Regions from separate parts of the Homo sapiens genome. Here region 1 is linked to region 2. Evidence: promoter capture Hi-C in 16 types of primary human blood cells and fetal thymus (Javierre and others, 2016). All regions are on one chromosome and are shown on one strand. Each heading gives the region's core, a stretch centred on a gene start or on the middle of the fragment in contact. The rest is flanking DNA. Distances are from core to core; before and after follow the strand shown. Region 1 overlaps LOC107986121 (a long non-coding RNA gene). Region 2 holds the start of STXBP5L (syntaxin binding protein 5L).

Region 1 (5,279 bases), core at 994-3,493, 410 kb after region 2:
TTAAAATAAACTATTTACCAGGTGTAGTGAAGGGTAAGGGAAAACCCAAGGGATGGGGTAAGTGTCCCAGGGTTTCCTAGTGGGAACCACCGGGCCTGAAGGGCAGGAGAGAGGAGGGGCAGCTGTAGGAGGGGGCCACCAAATAGGGGCTGTCAGGAGAGAAACAACCTGCAACCCAGCCAGGAGGAAACTAAATGCCCAAACCTCATCCTTCTGCCACCTTCCCAGCTCCTGCCAGCCCCTCCCACTGGCCAAACCCAGCTGGAGGCAGAGGGCAAGAAAGCTGGTTGATGCAGACCATGTAGTCAGCCTTCAGCCTTCAAGGGCATTGTGTAGAGTGGAGAAGGGTGGAGCAAGGGTTTAGAAGGGTAAATGGAGACTGTCTAGCTCAGTAGATGATCTTACCTCCGTTCATGGACACCTTAACTCCTTTATGTGCTTGGCAATTCATTGGTAACCTTCCTAGTTGCTTGGTACATGAACATTGTTGCTGCATTTGGGTAAATCTCCATATTTAAAGCCCTGTTTTTCCCAGATAGAAAATTTGTTTCCCCAGCCCCTCAATTGCAGCTAGCTCATTAGCTTGTGAATGAGAGTCCCCCAATTAGCATTATCCAAGCACAGCAGAGCCTTGCTTGAAGAAAGAAGCTTTAGGCAGAATTCATTGTGCTGCTGAGGATTGTGAGAGGGGTGACTGGCTTTCAGGGTCAGCAGAGGTAAGACTGAAACAGCACCTACATACTGCGGAGGGTGTCTTCACATCAGAAATGGCGGTGATGCTGGGGCAGTCGTAGCTTCAGTAAAGTCAAATTGCTGCAAGCATCTAGTTCATGTATCATCTAGTGGTCAGTGCTTGGAGCAGTACTGATTTTTCTCAACAGGCCAGTTCTAAAGTTTTGAGCCATTTCCGAAAGTTTGTCCTCAGGTCTGGTTCTCTGGCCTTCCCAACAAGTTTGTGAGCTACACAAAATCCTTGTAATAAATTACTTTTTTGACTAATCAGCCGGAGTCAGCTTTTGATGCTTGTGTCTATGGACCCTGAAATACATAATACTTCTATTATTTTATCTACTCTTATTTTTTTAAATCTCTTACATTTATCTAAATTAGACACTTAATAGGTTACTGCCATGTGATAGATGGACTAAGGAGCATACTGGCTAAATTCAGCTTTCTATCTGGAGCAAAAAAATGCTGGTATGCACATATTTTTATTTAAAAAACACAGCAGATTGAAACTGAGACCTTAAGGAACCTGGGTGTAAAATACCTTTGCTTTGTAAATAATTAAACATTAAGTAGAAATCATTTATCAAGCCTCCTAGTTATATCACTTTTGATATATGCTGTGGATGATTTTGTTGGAGAAATACCAATCTAGAAGAACCCAACCAGCTCTAGCTTTGCTACCAGTATACCATGAAGCTTGGAGCAAGACCTTTAATTTCTGTTTCTTCTTGCAGATCCAGAAATGAGGGGCCTATAATATAAGACCTTTGATATTCCTTTGAGCTCTAAAATCCCGTGATTACATATCTTTTTAAAAATCTTGAGGGAATATACTTGGCTTTTTCTGTATGTAAATCTTGAGGAACCACAGAATTTGCAACTCAATTCAGAGAGCTCTTGTTCAGTAAGAACAGTTTGACCCTTGACAGGGAAAACCATGACCTATTATTATTATTTTTATTGTTTAATATAGAGATGGGGTCTTACTATGTTGATCAGGCTTGTCTCAAATTCCTGGCCTCAAGCAATCCTCCTGCCTCAGCCTCCCAAAGTGCTGGGACTATAGGTGTGAACCATTGTGCCCGGCTCCTATTATTTTTATAATCAGCCAGTCGTCCTAACACTGCTAAAGACAAAATTCCCATTCAGTTTTTAAGCATGACAGCCCATGGCCTATGTACTAATTAACAGTCACAGAAAAGGGAAAGCATGGCAAGGTAGATTTTTTTTTTTTTTTTTTTTTTGAGATGGAGTCTCCCTTTGTTGCCCAGGCTGGAGTGCAGTGGCGCGATCTCGGCTCACTGCAAGCTCTGCCTCCCGGATTCACGCCATTCTCCGGCCTCAGCCTCCCAAGTAGCTGGGACTACAGGTGCCCGCCACCACGCCTGGCTAATTTTTTGTATTTTTTAGTAGAGACGGGGTTTCACCATGTTAGCCAGGATGGTCTCGATCTCCTGACCTTGTGATCCGCCCTCCTCAGCCTCCAAAAGTGCTGGGATTACAGGTGTGAGCCACTGCACCCAGCCGGAAAGGTAGATTTTTTAAAAACAGCTGTGGGCTTCTAATAAGCTGGGACGGGAAGCTCACACTTTCGCATTGCCATTCTTCCCCAAGCACATGGCAAAGATGGATAAACTAGAAAAAAAAAACAAAAAAATGATGACATTGCAGAGTTCAAGACAAAAAAAAAAAGATGATTATTTCCATGATGAGAATAAGCAATAGAATACAAAAGAGTGAGTTGGGCTGAAGCCACGGGCCTGCTGGCTCCAGGTCCAGAATCAGGTGGCGGTGGCTGGGTGACGGGAAGTCTACTACTCCACCTGAGAAAAGGGACCTGAATTTGAAGCATTGCTCTTAGACCGAGCTATGACTTATGGAATCTGTGGGCCCAGGGAGGTGTGAGGATACAGATGCAGTCTTGAAACCAGAAAAAGACCCAAGCCACATGTTGGCTTGGTGACTGGACCTGAGATATCTGTGACATTGTCATGACCTAGAGCCTTGAGCTGCATTTATAGCACCTGGTTCTGACATGGAATTCCAGAAAGCCGGGTGAAAAGACACCCACAAAACCACTGGATTTAGAGAAACAGTCACAGGGACAGAGGAGAGACAAAAAGACTGAAAACAACAAAAAACATTTTAAAATAAACCTGCAAATCAAAATTGCAAAATTCACGAAATCTAATCCTGAAAAAAATATACTCAATAAAATATGAAATCAGAACATGAATTCAGAACACAAATTCATTCAGAACATGAACTCACTCCAGAAGGAAATTAACTTTAATGAACAGTGTGACATATTGGTTAAAACAAGGAAGCTTAAAGAAACCCATAAGAGAATAACGATTATAAAAAGAACTAGCCGTCATGGAACTAAAATAGGCAAAAATAAAGCGAGAAGAGATAAATATGCAAAAATAACCAAATAGAAATATAGCCCTTGATATTTTAAAAAATACTTAATAGATGGAATGAACTCTAGACTCAGTAAGGGAAGTTCTGGTGAATGGGAAGATCATAAGGAGGAGTTCACACCAAATTCAACACAGAAAGACAAAGAGTTCAAATATATGAATGAGTGGTTACATGCATATGGATCCAGAAAAAGAGAATGAAAAGAATGACAGAGAAGGAACATAAGATGCTTAACATGAGAGCTTTTGTCCTAAGAATTATCCAGTTCAAAAGACATAAATCTCAGATTGAAAGTTCTCTCTTGATACCAGAAGAATAAATAAAAATAAATTCCCACCTAGGAGCATTGTAATGAGACTTAGAACATAAAGAGTACGAGGAAATCTTACATGTGACAGGAAGAAAACTCAGATTATCAAAAAGAATAACACTATGAGACTTCTCAGCAGCAACTCTAAATGCTACAAAGCAATGGAGAAAGCAGTCTTTAAAGTCGTGAAGGAAAAAAAACTTCCAACTTAGACTGTTATATCCAGCTGATCTTGCTCACGTTATTAACCTTTTCTCTCCCATCCCTACTCTTCCTCACTTTACTCTTCCCTCACTGACCTGGGGCTCCTTAACTCCATGATATGGGCACCAAGCACCTGCAGTCTCTTGTATCTCACCACCCTAGAGCAGCCAGCCACACCTCTGTGGCCTAGAGTTTCTGCTGCCTCCTTCCCTATACCATGCAACCTGGGCAACCAGGACCAGAAGCAGAAAGAAATGCTGCCCCCTTATCCTTCATGCAATCAAATTTGTGCAGCGGGTGGGGAGGAGGTAAGAAATATGAATGCCTGGGAAAAGGAGGAGCTCCAGGTAATGGGAAGAAAGATGTGACAGGACATTTTTGAAAGTTCAAATACATCCACATTCTGTTGAAACCTTGAAACTTTAAATATTTAGGCTCTTGTCATTATCTTAAGTTCTTCATGCTACTCTTGACGTCCCAAAAAGCAGTCTCTAAGTCACATAGATGATCTCTTGGGCATTTTCTCTCTCAGCCATGGAGAGCTATGAAAGGAAGAATCGCTGCTTTTCTCAAGCAAATCAGTTTCTTGATGTCTTTTGGTTCTCACTCCTTCCCTGCTCCTGATGCTTTGACCCCTTTTATAGATCAGAGGGCTCTAGGGTAATGAATGGTCTTGGGTGGTGAATAAAGGTGGATAAATAGGGACAGGGACAGTTAAATTGGGAGCCTTTTTTACAACCTTAATGGGTTTTTCCCCACCCCAAGTTTCCTTCTCCACTGAAATGCCACACCAATGCTTGTGGGATTTATGAGGTGGCCAGACCAATGCGTTGTTTTTTCTTTTTCTTTTTCTTTTTTTTTTTTAAGCTTCCCTTGAGAGAATAAATGGTAATGGAGAGAACTATTTAACAAGGTCCTGGTTTCTCTTGCAACACAGTAGCTAAACTTGCCTGCTTTTATGTGCGTTTTTGTAGGGATCAGCTTGGTAGACAGTATTAGCAGAGAAATGACACCTTGATCTTGGTTTGCAAGCACTTCTCCCATCAGTCCTAGATTAGGCCCTGTTCAGCCATGCAGGGGTGTTGGTTTATGTGTGCTGCAGCAGTGGGCATAATGAATATAATTTACCTGGTGGACAAAGGTGTGTACCAAGTGAATTTAAATAATTGGGGTGGATTGGCTAGTAGGTAAGAAGTGGGCTTTTAAAGAGATACTGAAGATTGAAAGATTTTTTTTTAAAGAAAAAAAACATTGATTGTAGGTAATGAAAAACTAGGGTTTGCCCTCTTCATATCTACTCTCCTTCCAAATAGTTGTATCCAAAACTGTTTTTCCCTCTCCCCTACCTTGCCCCCCTGTTAAAATAGAAATGGGGATTGATTAATGACCCAGCTCCTGAATACCTGTATAATTTGTACAAAAATATTTTCTATGAAAATGATTTGTAATCTGTAGACTTATTACCTGGGAGATGTCTTGAGATGTGAAATCCCATCCTTTGGGTTGTGGGTTTTTTGTTTTCTCCAAATACATCTGATCTTTAAAAAAAAAGAAAAGAAAAGAATGATGTGACAGGAGAGAATACTGAGAATTCAGCTATTGCCATAATAAT
Region 2 (5,517 bases), core at 2,752-5,251:
GAAGTAAAGAGATCAGTTAGAAAGTGATTTCAAAAGACCAAGCAAGAAAATATGACGGAACGAACAAGTACTGGGGATGTAGAAAAGGTCATAAATTTCAGAAATACTAAGGAAATAGAATAGAGGGGATGTGATGACTAATCAGATAGAAGAGAGGAGGCTTTCAAACAGCCAAGTCTAGATTTATACTTTAGTTTTGCCCATGTTGAAAAGGTAGAAGCACCCAGAATATGACAGCTCCTTAGAACTCAGAAGAGAAATTTTTTTGCACATTTAATCAGGGAGTCTATGAGTCTAAATAAAGTCCCCATTTCAGTAACGGTCTAATTTTGGGATTTCCTTAGTCCATTTTTATATGTTTTGTTATAGACCAGGTAATTATAATACATCCATATAACTATTTTTTAAAATTAACTATATTCCTATCCAAAGATGTTACAGTATTTTCCACATTTAGTAAGACTTCAGTACTGTTAGTGGACAACTTATATAGCTATCTATCTTATAATTTATTTGGAAATCATAAGCTAATATTATTATAACCCACTAGTTATATTCGCTCTACTATGAACACGTGATTTTACAAACTTTAACAATAATATTCGTATATATTTTATCATCCTTTCCATTTATGCATTACCTTCACCTTATTCTGTCTGATCCTCCCAATAACCGTCTCTTAGTTAAGGAGAGCAGATACACTTATTCCTACACTGCAGATGCAGAAATCAAGGCTCAAGGGAGATAAATGGCTTACCCAAGAGTATATGGCTGTCAACTAGCAGAACTTTAAATAAAACACAAATTTTCTGATTCCTAGGCCAGTGCTCTTCCTACCATGCCATATGTTTTTAAAGTAGTATGTATTTAACTTCTGGTACTTCCTATGACTATCTCTTGCCTGAATAAATGGGAAGATAACTATGTATTCCATTATCTCTTGCATTCACCCATTTCCCTGAAGTTTTTTATTTAAAACCTTCTCTACAAGCTTTATGACCTCAACAGCCCAATGCCATTCTGTTTCAGAAGTCTATCTTTCCTATACCAGTTTTACCTCTGGTAAAATTCTCCTGTATCACTGTCATATACATGAATTGAGAGAATTTGGAAAAAATTTTCAGAATCTGATCGTGAAAATTGCAAACACATCAAAGATTAGAGAATCAGGGCATAATTCCCCTGCCTAGCAGTTCAAATTTGAACTCCAGGACTCTTTTACATTTGTCTCATAACCACTGTTAAGACCTTCCCTCATCGAACAGAATATCTGTTATTTCCTATTGAGGAAAAAAATTATTACTGTACACAAATTTCACAAAGTAGCTTAGAATTAAATCTGTTTATCTAAATTAACTCTAAATAAACTTGCTTTTATGTAAACTAATAACTATAGATTTAATGTTTTTATAATGACCCTGCTAGGAATATAGGCTGAGACAGTGATTGAAATATACCTCATTATACATATATCACTTGTTTACCACAAATATAATTTTAATAATTTCAAAAAACTTTTCTTTTGTGAAAGTATTTTTAAAAATTGTTAATTTCTGTAATTTTGCAATTTTTCTATTTCTTATGTAGCCAAACACATTTACAAAACTATATTCATTTATATGACATAAATAACTTAGTAGCCTTTGTTGCATATAATAGGCACATTCCAAGACAACTCAAAAAAGGGCAATAAAATTATAAATCACTTTATGTCATAAAATATAACAAATATAGCAATAACAATATCTCTATGCATTAACCTAATGCTTGTTTTATAAACTCTCATCTTCTCTACCTACCAGAAACTCTCTTTTGCATATTCATTAGAAGTTCAATATCAAAGTATAATTACATAAAATGTTTTCTTACTAAACCAGAACACCCGCTATTTTTGAGTTCCTACAACTGCAAGTTCTTATAAGCCTGTGCATTTGTCTGTTTGTGTATTTATGAAGAGTTTAAGAATGTGAAGGTGTTTTTATTCGGAATTTTAAAGCAATGTCATTGGCCCCCTTAAAATGAACATATTTTCCTATTATCTACTTAATCCTAGCAACATGCTAGTAGCTTTATTCATTTCATACTGAACAGTGAAATAACAATATTTTCTCTGATAACACAAAAAACCAAACGACTATTTGCTTCTTCAGTTAATATAATACACAAATATTAAAAATTTTGTCCACTATTGGATCTTAACATTATCTTGCAAATTCTACTTTTTGTGTGTGCTCATTTCCCACTTAAACTATCATTGCTTTTTAAGTTGACGCCTAAAATATCTATTAAGCCAAACTGATCTACCCACAGAGCTTTCTGCAGCAGACTCTGATGCTGACATCTCAACAGTTTCCTGTTCCTGGTATGTTTTTCCCCCCTTGTTTCCTTACAACAGTATAATAAAGAAATAATAGGCTTTAAGCCAATTCAAAACTTACCTTGCAAATCTGGAAATACTCCGAAGTCAAAGTTTCCTGAATTTCCTCTCTGAGAACCCCTGCAGTCCCCGCCGGATGTACGGAACCACTTCCAGCCCCACCACCACTGTTACTGCCACTGCTGCTACCACTGCCAGGGGAGGAGGCAGTTAAGCCATCCAAAACTTTTCGGAAATTAAACTTCTTCATTTTAAACACTGTTGAGAAATACAAAGGAAAAAAAGGGAAAGAGGTGACTTAACACGTGCAATTAGACCTTGGTAAAAGCCTTTCTCTTTTCATTAGTCAAGTCAGTCCCCATTTTATGAGCATTGGTTACGACCGACTGGAAAAAAAGAGTCAGGATTCGTTTTGCCAAATTTTAATTCTAAAAAGCATATCCTTTTTAAAAAAAGATAAATATAACACAACTCCAAAAGCAACAGTATTCCCTCCTCACACATCAGATTTTCAAGGACTGTATCCCCAGCTGTAACTACGCTTTATCAGCACTGGGGTAAAAATAAAAGGCAGTGTCATCATCGTCATTAGCATTATATCATCATTATTATACAATCAAACCAGAGTTCAACAGACCAAGACTCTGTCTCTCTCTTAAGGGCGGACTTTCCTTCTTCGAAACGTTCGGCTCAGAGTATTTTATTTTCAGAAAAACGACGTTGGGGGAGCCGGTATTTACTCTGCCACCACCTTCCGGGCTCTTCCCCCATCAGCTTCAACGCTTCCTTTTTTGTCACTATGAAAGGCGGGGAGGGGGGTACTTTTTCTAGTCCCCATCCCCCAGCAGCCCGGACCCCAAAACATCTGCGAGTGACCCACAGCAACAGCTGCCGGGGAGGGGGGGAGGAGGAGAACGGCGACACCGTCTGTTTCCACTTGTCCCTCCGCCTCCCCCTCACCTCCCCCTCATCTCCCTCCCCGCGTCCTCTTTCCCCCCTCTCCCCATCTCCTGCTCCCCTCCCTCCACCTCTGCCCGCAGCCGCCGCCGCGCTCTCCCGCCTGTTCGCCCGCCCGCCGTCCGCTCTCCCCGCTGCACGGCAGCCGCTCTCGGGGGACGTGAAGCGGTGGCGGCGACGGCTGCGGCCCGAGTCCCGCCTCAGCCTGCTGGGCGCGCAGAGCCGCCGCTCCCGCTGTCCCTCCCCCAGGCCCAGCGCTGAGGCGCGGGGCTCTCGCCCGCCCGCGGGCGCGCGAACACACAAACACCTCACGCCGAGGCATTCGCGCTCCCAGCCAGAACACACACAAACACCCTCACACGGGCATTCGCGCGCTGGTGCGCTCGCTCTCTGTCTCTGTCTCTCTCTGTCTCTCTCTCTCTCAAACACACACACACACTCACACAGACACACACAGGTGCGAGGGAGCCACAGCTGGACGGCGGCAGCGGCGGCGGCGTCCCAGAGGGATGACTATCTGACCCAGGACTTAGGCACCTTCCTCAGACGCCTCTAGCCGCCTGCCAGCCCGGGAAGCTGAGGGGGCCGAGGTAGGCGGGCTCCGGCCGCTTCTCTGGGCCCTCTGGTCGCGGCGCCTGGCGCTCTCCGAGGTCCTAACCGAGCAGTCAGGCTCCAGAGCAGGCTCCGCCCTCCCGCCGTGGGAGGCAGGCCCCGCCCCCGGGCCGGCCCCTAGCTTGCCCCGCCCTGCTTCTTCCCCGGCAAAGCTGGGAGGTGAAGGGGGCGGGGTGCCCGGGGACGTCAAAGGGCGGGAGTAGCTTCGGCGCCAATCCTAGATTCGATAGGGTAAGTTCTGTGGTCTCCAGGGCAGAAGAAATCTGTGGATAGGCCGAAGGTAAAGCCAATGACAGTGGGAGGGGGGAATTTAGAGAAGTAGGTGAGGTATTTGATTGACAGCGGTATTGGCCAGTATGCTGGGGGTCGTGCTCTGGGGGATGTAATTGGCGCTACCTGTTGAAGGACTCAAGTGTGAATCAATAGAATGCCTGCAAGCGTGCGAATTTGGACGCCTGGAGTCTGAGGATGCGGGAAGCGTTGCTTACCTTAGGTATGGCTCTGGACAGTATGGTGAACTGAGCAAGTGTTTTGCACCTTTTCACTTCTGCGAGCCTCTTCCCGGTCTTCAGGAGCATCTATCTGGCTCCCATCACTCTCCTGCTACCTGCACTCAACTTGTATCTGTGATTAACCCCTGCTGTTACCAATAATGGCTTAATGGTTCGTATCTGCCAAGGAGAATTGTATTTCAACAGTTTCAGAATATATAGCCTTCTAGAGCCTAAGGAATTGATTGCTTACCTTGCTCTCTAGTAAGTAGAATTACTCCTTCCCCATCATCCTCACATATACAAAGATATTTAATTTCTTTAAAGAAATATTTCTCACTCTGTAAACCGTATCAAGAATATATTTTAAGCTATTTCTGTGAGTCACAATAATCATTTTGAAAGATGTATTATTCAGTGCAGAAAAAAAAACTGTATCAGGATAGATTTGGTTCTGAGCCCTCACCTGCTATTGACTTCGGGAAAATTTGGACCCCGATGTCTTTGCGAAATGAATGGCAGTTCAGCGGGTCACAGCTAACTGAGACTTCAATTTGGGCATCACAACAGAACTCATTAGTGATCATTTCAAATATTGTCTTACATCTTACAATCTTTGACCTCTTTTTTTCTTTTCTTCTTTTTCTTCTTTTTCACCTCTCCTCTTCTCTCTCTCTCTTTTCTCTCAATCAAGGGAGAGAGTGGGAAGGAGGAAGCAGGAGACTTGAAGGATGATGACTTGTCCAAGGACATAGCAAAGAAATGGTAAAGATGAAATAGAGCTCAGTTTTTCAGATCCTCAGCTCAACGTTGAATCTTTCTGTCCTGAATGACTATTTCACTCCTTTTGGGACTCCCTACACTGCTGGTAGTCTCTCATTGCCACAGCTAGACAGTAACCTTCTTGAAGGCAAGCATGGAATTGTATATTTCTCCTAGATTATTTAGCACCAGGCACAATATTTCACTTAAAATAGGCACGTAAAGGGTTCTGAAGAGTTGGTTTATTAATATTTTTTATTAAAGATATATGAGTTGGTACCCAATTACATAATGTTTGAAAGGGGTAAAAATAATGGT

What was found. The method cuts DNA at HindIII sites, captures the fragments that hold promoters and counts their contacts. A CHiCAGO score of 5 or more calls a contact.
Region 1: a contact is called between a fragment that was not itself captured here and the fragment with the promoter of STXBP5L in region 2, in 1 of 17 cell types (total CD4 T cells). The highest score is 5.0, in total CD4 T cells.

The regions. Positions count from the first base shown.
Region 1 is chr3:120,499,432-120,504,710 of GRCh38, reverse strand. LOC107986121 (a long non-coding RNA gene) reads right to left here. Exons shown (of 3, transcript XR_001740868.2): 2 at 5,132-5,205. Among named protein-coding and RNA genes, the nearest start is that of FSTL1, 51 kb to the right of the region's middle. RefSeq lists an enhancer at 3,976-4,545. The HindIII fragment of the contact is 1,631 bases long and covers 1,428-3,058 here.
Region 2 is chr3:120,906,689-120,912,205 of GRCh38, reverse strand. STXBP5L (syntaxin binding protein 5L) reads right to left here and starts at 4,001. Exons shown (of 27, transcript NM_001308330.2): 1 at 3,872-4,001; 2 at 2,439-2,635. The coding sequence starts at 2,627. LOC105374069 (a long non-coding RNA gene) reads left to right here and starts at 4,113. Exons shown (of 6, transcript XR_924399.4): 1 at 4,113-4,177. RefSeq lists a silencer at 3,930-4,169. The HindIII fragment of the contact is 9,292 bases long and covers 994-5,517 here.